Linked DNA regions of Homo sapiens: regions 2 and 3 are each linked to region 1. Evidence: promoter capture Hi-C in 16 types of primary human blood cells and fetal thymus (Javierre and others, 2016). All regions are on one chromosome and are shown on one strand. The core of a region is centred on a gene start or on the middle of the fragment in contact, and the rest is flanking DNA. Distances in the headings are between cores, read along the strand shown. Region 1 holds the start of PEX6 (peroxisomal biogenesis factor 6). Region 2 overlaps UBR2 (ubiquitin protein ligase E3 component n-recognin 2). Region 3 holds the start of PRPH2 (peripherin 2).

What was found. Contacts are between HindIII fragments. The CHiCAGO score rates a contact against its expected background, and 5 or more counts as called.
Region 2: a fragment that was not itself captured here is called in contact with the fragment with the promoter of PEX6 in region 1 in 1 of 17 cell types (total B cells); the score reaches 5.5 in total B cells.
Region 3: a contact is called between the fragment with the promoter of PRPH2 here and the fragment with the promoter of PEX6 in region 1, in 2 of 17 cell types (non-activated CD4 T cells and neutrophils). The highest score is 7.6, in non-activated CD4 T cells.

What each region holds. Positions count from the first base shown.
Region 1 is chr6:42,977,921-42,980,453 of GRCh38, forward strand. It overlaps PEX6 (peroxisomal biogenesis factor 6), which reads right to left and starts at 1,261. Exons shown (of 17, transcript NM_000287.4): 1 at 349-1,261. The coding sequence starts at 1,230. RefSeq lists enhancers at 521-1,462, 1,623-1,672 and silencers at 833-1,212, 1,867-2,063. The HindIII fragment of the contact is 10,844 bases long and covers 1-2,533 here.
Region 2 is chr6:42,650,471-42,653,003 of GRCh38, forward strand. It overlaps UBR2 (ubiquitin protein ligase E3 component n-recognin 2), which reads left to right. Exons shown (of 47, transcript NM_001363705.2): 24 at 1,553-1,601; 25 at 2,021-2,175. Among named protein-coding and RNA genes, the nearest start is that of PRPH2, 71 kb to the right of the region's middle. The HindIII fragment of the contact is 871 bases long and covers 838-1,708 here.
Region 3 is chr6:42,721,326-42,723,858 of GRCh38, forward strand. PRPH2 (peripherin 2) reads right to left here and starts at 1,272. Exons shown (of 3, transcript NM_000322.5): 1 at 429-1,272. The coding sequence starts at 1,009. The HindIII fragment of the contact is 19,648 bases long and covers 1-2,533 here.

The DNA of each region.
Region 1 (2,533 bases), core at 11-2,510:
GCAACCTCCGCCTCCCAGGTTCAAGCGATTCTCCTGCTTCAGCCTCCCAAGTAGCTGGGATTAGAGGCATGCACCACCACGCCCGGCTAATTTTACATTTTTTTAGTAGAGACGGGGTTTCTCCATGTTGGTCAGGCTGGTCTCGAACTCCCGACCCCAAGTGATCCGCTCGCCTCGGCCTCCCAAAGTGCTGGGATTACAGGCGTGAGTCACCGCGCCCGGCTAGAAACATTATGTTCAAAGTCCGGGATGATATGGGGCACGAGTCCTAAATCTTCCAATTTACCTAAGACAGAGAAGAGGGTATAAGAAAGAGGAAGCACTCCTGACCCCAGTCCTTTATCCTACCTGAATTCTGAGCTCTCCCATTTCCAGGGGGTCACAGCCAAGATTAAAAGCCAAAGTGGCAGGGACAAGCGCCAGTCCGTCAGCGAGGGGCTCTCCCAGCGGTCCAGAGCCGGGTCCCAGTCTATCAGAGAGGTCCCAGCGAGGTTCTAGGACCTGCACCCTAGCCAAGTGCGGCTGTGAAGTGTTCGATGACTCTCTGGCCTGGGCCACCCACACCCATTCGCCCTGGAAGAGGCCAAGGCCACGGAGACAGCTCCGGCTCACCCCTAGTGAATCTCCAGTCCCTCCCAGAACTCCCTGGAGTCGCCGCACTGTGCCAGAAACCGCAAAGGAGGACACCACGGGCGGGGGTGGGGGCCGACTGCTGTCCCCAGACTCTGGACACAGTCTGGCCCGCCCGCGGAGCTCAGTCACAGCCAGCCGAGTCCCTGGGCCCAGCAGCCCTTGCAACGCCGGCCGCGTCTCCAGCACCCGCGGTCCGGGCACTGGGAGGGTCTCTCCGCGCCTCACCAGCAGCGGCCCGACTCGCGGTCCGAGCCCAGGCCCCAGCGAGGTGCCAAGCAGTGCCCAACCTAGCGCCGGGGGCCGCCGCACCGCCCGCGCCCGCACCCAGGCCCCGGAGCCCAGTGCCAGGAGCCGCAGCAGCGCGCGGCTAACCAGTAGCTGCGGCGGCCCGGGACCCTGCTCTTCGGTGCCCGCGTCCGGCCCCTCCAGGGCTGCCACCAGCAGCGCCGGCCCTGCCGGGCTCTCCCCTGCAGGCCTCAGGGCCAGCACCAGGCCCAGCTCCGCCGCCGGCCACGGGCCCCCGGGTGGCAGCAGCACTGCCAACGGGGGTGTCTCGGTCGGAAAGGGCTCCAGGACCCGCAAGACAGCCAGCGCCATGGTGACAGGACACCAACGAGGAGGGTGAAGGAGCGCAGCTTCCGGAGCCAGAGAGCCAGACGACTAGTGTGCGCGAGGGCCGCTTCCGCTTCCGTCAGGGGAGGCCAGAGGAAAAGGGGAGGGGGGTCGGGTGCCGCGAACTTGCTCTGAGGGGGTTAGCTGCGCCTCGGATTGATCTGCGTCGTGCCTCGATAGGCAGTAACCTTCATCGCTGCGGTTGCGTAGCGTTTACCCATGCGCCATTTGAACTTGTGCTTAAGGGATTTATCTTTGCCTTCTACGGAAGTAATGTTCTCTTAACTATTTTTCCCCGTGGCATGAACGTAACAGTTTATTGACTGATAAATGAACAGTCAGCATGCTCGGGATGACTGGGCCCAGTACTGGGAGCTCTAGGTGAAATGTTTCGGAAGGAGTCCGCTCCTCTGCGGAGCTCCTGCAGCTTCCCCTGTGGAACTGTGAGCACTGAGGTTTGAGGGTTGCAGGAAAGGTTGCAGGAGGGAGTAGCAGGATTAGAAAACTGTCTCACACTTGCTTATAGGTATATAGTGGCTGCTGAGTGAATTACTAGATGTGATTCATACAGCCCTGGAGTGCTTGGTGCCACCACACATGTTCCAGCACATCTGGCACAAAACCCATGTTCCAGGACTTCTTGCCCTGTTCATTGTTCTGTTTGTTTTACTCCCACCAAACTTAAGTTGAAGACAAAACAGCTTTTCTTTCACCCCCCCCCCCCAAATCCTTGCAGATCGGAAACCCATTCACTTTCTATCCTAGAGCGGGGCAGGCAGCAGAGCAGGCAGAAGGAAAGGAGTTCAAGGCTTCTGTCAGCATAACACCAACAGTCGACTTCCTGCGTGTGCTGTTATTTAGATTCCATCCTTCTCTTCACCTCCACTGTTCTGTACAAGACACTCAGCTAGTGGTAGGCCACATTTCCTTTTTTATGGCAACAGGGTCCTACTCTGTCACCCAGGTTGGAGTACAGTGGCACGATCCCCATTCATTGCAGCTTCTACCGTCCCAGGCTCAAGTGATCTCCCACCTCAGCCTCCCGAGTAACTGTAGCCGGGACCACAGGCACACGCCACCATACCCAGCCAATTTTTTTTTTGAGACGGAGTTTCGGTCTTGTTGCCCAGGCCAGAGTGCAATGGCACGATCTCAGCTCACTGCAATCTCCGCTTCCCAGGTTCAAAGAATCTCCTGCCCCAGCCTCCCAAGTAGCTGAGATTACAGGTGTGTGCCACCACACCCAGCTAATGTTGTATTTTCAGTAGAGACGGGGTTTCACCCTGTT
Region 2 (2,533 bases), core at 23-2,522, 330 kb before region 1:
GAGTTTGGTGGCTATTCACAATGCCATTATAGAGCATTGCAACCTCAAACTCCTGGGCTCAAGCAATTCTCCCACCTCAGCCTCTTGAGTAGATGAGATTACAGGCATGCACCACTGTATCTGGCTTGAATTTTTTTTTCCTAAACAACTTTTTTACTGCTTTTGCAGATTGAAAAATGATACATTTTTATTGTAGGGGATTTGGAAAATATAAAATATAAAGAAGAAAGTAGAAATTACTTAAAATACCCTCACCTAACATTTTGGAGTTACCCCCTAGCGTTTTGTACATATGTATATACGATCTATATAATACATACCTTTACGTATATGGGTATAGTTTTTTAAAACAAATTTTCAACCTGTATTATAATCAGTTAATCCATTTTATGCACATTTCAGAATTGGTATTATTTAACACTTTTTCATAGAGATTCATGGAGCTTTTCTAATCATTCCTAGGTAATTAAATTTTGCCTTTTTGGTGGGGCATGTAATCCCAGCACTTTGGGAGGCTGAGGCGGGCAGATCGCTTGAGCTCAGGAGTTCGAGATCAGCCTGGCCAACATGTTGAAATCCCATGTCTACTAAAAATACAAAAATTAGCCAGGCATGGTGTCATGCACTTCTCGTCCCAGCTACTCAGGAGGCTGAGATAGGAGGATCACTTGAGCCCAGGAGGTCAAGACTGCAGTGAGCTATGATTGCACCACTGCATTCCAGCTTGGATGATGGGAGTGAGACCGTATCTCAAAAAAAAAAAAAAAATCTGCCTTTTAGCAGTCTCCTCTTAAAATGGTTTTTCAATAAACAGCATTAAATAAAACTTAAACATAAAGCTTTTATTTAGTTTTTGATGAAGTCATAGAGTTCAAACTTAAATAAGTTTGTACTTATTTAAGTACATGTTTCCCTTCTAATTTAAAGTAATAGAGAACTCGTTTGGAGATTCTTTTAGTTAAAAAAAAAAATTAACCTTGATGTATCCGTTTGGGGGAGGACTAGAACTTAAAGATAGATATCTTTTTTATTTTTTATTTTTTTTGAGATAGGGTCTCACTCTGTTACCCAGGCTGGAGTGCAGACCTCGGCTCACTAGAGCCCCTGCCTCCCAGGTTCAAGCAATTATCCTGCCCCAGCCTTCTGAGTAGCTAGGATTACAGGTGTGTGCCACCACGCCCAGCCAATTTTTGTATTTTTAGTAGAGATGGGGATTCTCCGCGTTGGCCAGGCTGCTCTCGAACTCCTGACCTCAGGTGATCCACCTGTCTTGGCCTCCCAAAGTGCTGGGATTACAGGTGTGAGCTGCCACGCCCCGGCCTCTGTTGTGTTATTTTCTGATTTTAGATGTTCATCCTTGGCCAGACACATTGGCTCATGCCTGTAATCCCAGCACTTTGGGAGGTTGAGGTGGGCAGATCACAAGGTCAGGAGTTCAAGACCAGCCTGGCCAACATAGTGAAACCCCACCTCTACTAAAAATATAAAAATTAACCAGGTGTGGTGGTGGGCATTACTAATTCCCGGTCCAAATAACTTTATTTTTTATTAGGCAGAAGAAGCGCAACGGAAATTGAAAAGACAAAATAGAGAAGATACAGGTATTTTTAATCTTTCTGAAAATGTCTTGCCCATCTTTTTTGCTTGTTAAACATTGTTTTCTGTTAACTATGATGATTGTCCTTGGTGGAATGAATATTTAAATGTAAGCTTTCCTAGTGAATAACCTCCTATTCAGAGGAATAATAAATATGTTAACACAGAAATAGTTTGTGCTAAGTCCTCTGGGTTGATGTTATCTCAGATCTTAAGACCTTTCTAGGGGAAAAGATAGACTTTCTTCTGTACTGCTGCTACTTTCGTGGCTCTTTTTATGCATTTGACCTTGAGAATGTAAAATAATAGCTTTAAGGTGTGTGTTAATGAATATTCTTTGAGTTAAAACTATCAAAAGTAACAAAGAGATAGTTTCTAAAGCATGTTCTGTAAAAGAAACCAATAATAACAACTGTATTTTCAGCACTCCCACCTCCGGTGTTGCCTCCATTCTGCCCTCTGTTTGCAAGCCTGGTTAACATTTTGCAGTCAGATGTCATGTTGTGCATCATGGGAACAATTCTGCAATGGGCTGTGGAACATAATGGATATGCCTGGTCAGAGTCCATGCTGCAAAGGGTAGGTTTGAAGACATTTATTATTTATATTTTAGTATTTTATAGTACAAGCAAAATATTCTTGTCTGTATCTATACACAGGAAAACTAGGCCGAAATGTATTGTGTTTTCCTAACTTGAATATATTGTTACTGCTTTTGTGTCTGACAGTAAAAACAAGTGCCAGACAGATTTTTTTATACCACATGGTTGTTATTACCTCAGTCCCACTGGGCAGTTGTTCTCTCCTAGATTGGTCCTTGTCTTTATATATGTAGTATTCTGATATTGATATAATGTGTTATCTTTTATATATGTTTCTAATCTAATTATTTTCCAAAACAAAAATTTTTTTTGAATCATCCATATCCTTATTTTGT
Region 3 (2,533 bases), core at 22-2,521, 260 kb before region 1:
AAATTTAAACTTCTGGGACTGAATCCATCTACTTTGAATGAATGGGACAAATAGCCAAATAGTACCTCAGTGTTTGTGATCTATGAATGACTTCCATCCCTCTGTATAAAGTGGACACACATTGCTGCCTGGCTCTTCATCCCAAGGGGCTCCTATCCAAACAGCTTATATAAATTGATACCTTCCTACCACCTTAGCCAATGTTAGGTTGAACCCTATGAAGTTGTCATTTTTTATGGGTCAAAGAGGTAGAATATTAGCAATTTCATATGGTTCCACCTGATACACCCTCACATACGCAGCAATAAGTTGTGCACCCGATGGAGAGGAAAAGGCACTGGGTGCGGGGAGAGGGGCTGGTCAGAGGCCTGAGCCTCAGTGTCCCCAATATATTCATAGCTCTGACCCCAGGACTGGAAGCCACTCACTCTTTGACTTCTTTGGAGGAAAAGTCCAGGTAGCGATTGCTGATCCACTGAATCTCAAACCAGTCCCGAAAACCGTTGTTGCCGCAGCATTTGAACTCGATCTGCAGCATGTCGATGGTCTTCTTCATGAAACACCTGCCAGGGGTGTCTGTGTCCCGGTAGTACTTCATGCCGTTCTTGAGCCCTTGGCCCAGGGTGTTCTCCAGCGAGCCCCGAAGCAGAAAGCAGCAGAGAGCCACAAGGAAGAGGATGATGTTGAAGAGAACACAGATAGCCAGGTACGGCTTCAGCCAGGGCTTCCATCTGGCATACTTGGCTGGGTCCAGGGCGTCGTAGCAGATCTTCCCAGCCAGCGAGTTGAAGACACAGGATAGCACCCCCATCCCTATCAATGAGTTGGGCACAAAATGGCTCTCAGAATTATTCATCACATCGCTCCTCTTTCGGAGTTCAATCTTCAGGAACAGTCCTAGGCTGAAGATGATGATGCCAGCCAACACGGAGAACCAGTTCATGAGCCAGAGCCCTTGGGCCAACTTGACCCGCTTCTTCTGGTCAAACTTGACTTTCAGTAGCGCCATGCTTGCCAAGTGTAGTCCGGGTTGCTTCCCACAGCACAGCTCCCACCCCAAACCTTAACGAGCCCAGAGGCGGAGACTTAGGGCCTTGGGAAAAGTGCAGATGGCCCAAGCTGTAGGGAGCTGCCCTGGGGGCTACCCATGTCGAGTCCCACTAGCCTGGGATCCCCGTGAATGCAGTAGTGGTGGCAGGGGTCTCGGAATCACAGCTTGAGCAGGGGATAGTCCTGGTCCTGGGCGTTGTTTCTTCAGCGCCCTTCCCAGCCAAGAAGGGGCAGCCTGAACGCTGCAGATTAAAAGTGGGATCCACAAGACATTTTGCTAATCTCTTTAGCCAGGTTCATCCCATTAGATAAAGCCATGCCACTCTCAAAACATGGTCAAAAGCAGCCTCCAGGTACATGCTGAACCAGAAAGCTCTGGGTACAGCTTGGAGAATCAGGAGCAAAGGGCAAGACTGGCCAGAAGAATGGGCTGTATCTGGATGTCTGGCTCAGACCGTGTTGCTCCCCAAAAGCATATTTCCAGGCCAATCTCCTTCAACATTTAAAACTTTCTGTAGGACAAATAAATTGTTATCCTCTCTGAGAAAAGAAATGACAGGGCCAGGCACAGTGGATCACGCCTATAATCCCAGCACTTTGGGAGACCAAGTTGGGTGGATCACTTGAGCCCAGGAGTTCAAGACCAGCCTGGGCTACATAGGAAGACCCCATCTCCACACACACACACACACACACAAAAAAAAAAAAAAAAAAATTAGCTGGGTATGGTGGCATGCACCTGTAGTTCTCCCAGCTACTCTGGAGGCTGAGGTGGCAAGATCACCTGAGCCTGGGGAGTTCAAGGCTGCACTGAGCCATGATCGTGCCACTGCACTCCAGCCTGGGTGACAGAGTGAGGCCCTGTCTCAAATTTTAAAAAGACAAAGAAAAGAAGAGAAGAAGGAAGGAAAGAAAGAAAGTGACAGATCGTGAGAAAACATTTGCAACTTGTAAAATTAAAAAGTAATATACAGTGGCCAGGCATGGTGGCTTATGCCTGTAATCCCAGTACTTTGGGAGGCCAAGGCAGGTGGATCGCTTGAGCCCAGGAGGTGGAGGTTGCACTGAACTGAGATCCCCACATTGCACTCCAGCCTGGGTGACAGTGAGACTCTGTCTGGAAAAAAAAAAAAAAGAATTAATATGCAAAAATGTTTTAAGTCTCACAAATTCACAATAAACAAAAATTCACAATCAAAAGACCAATAATCAACTGGAAAAATAGGCAAAAACCAGGAACAGACAATTCATAATTAGGAAACTTGAAAAGTCCAATAATCTGGAAAAGATCTCAACTTGGGTAATAAGCAGGAAAATGCAAATCCAAACAACAATAAAATACCAAACTTGGCCGGGCACAGTGGTTCACACCTGTAATCCCAGCAGTTTGGAAGGCCAAGGTGGGTGGATCACTTGAGGTCAGGCATTCAAGACCAGCCTGGCCAACATGGTGAAACCCTGTCTCTACTAAAAATACAAAAAT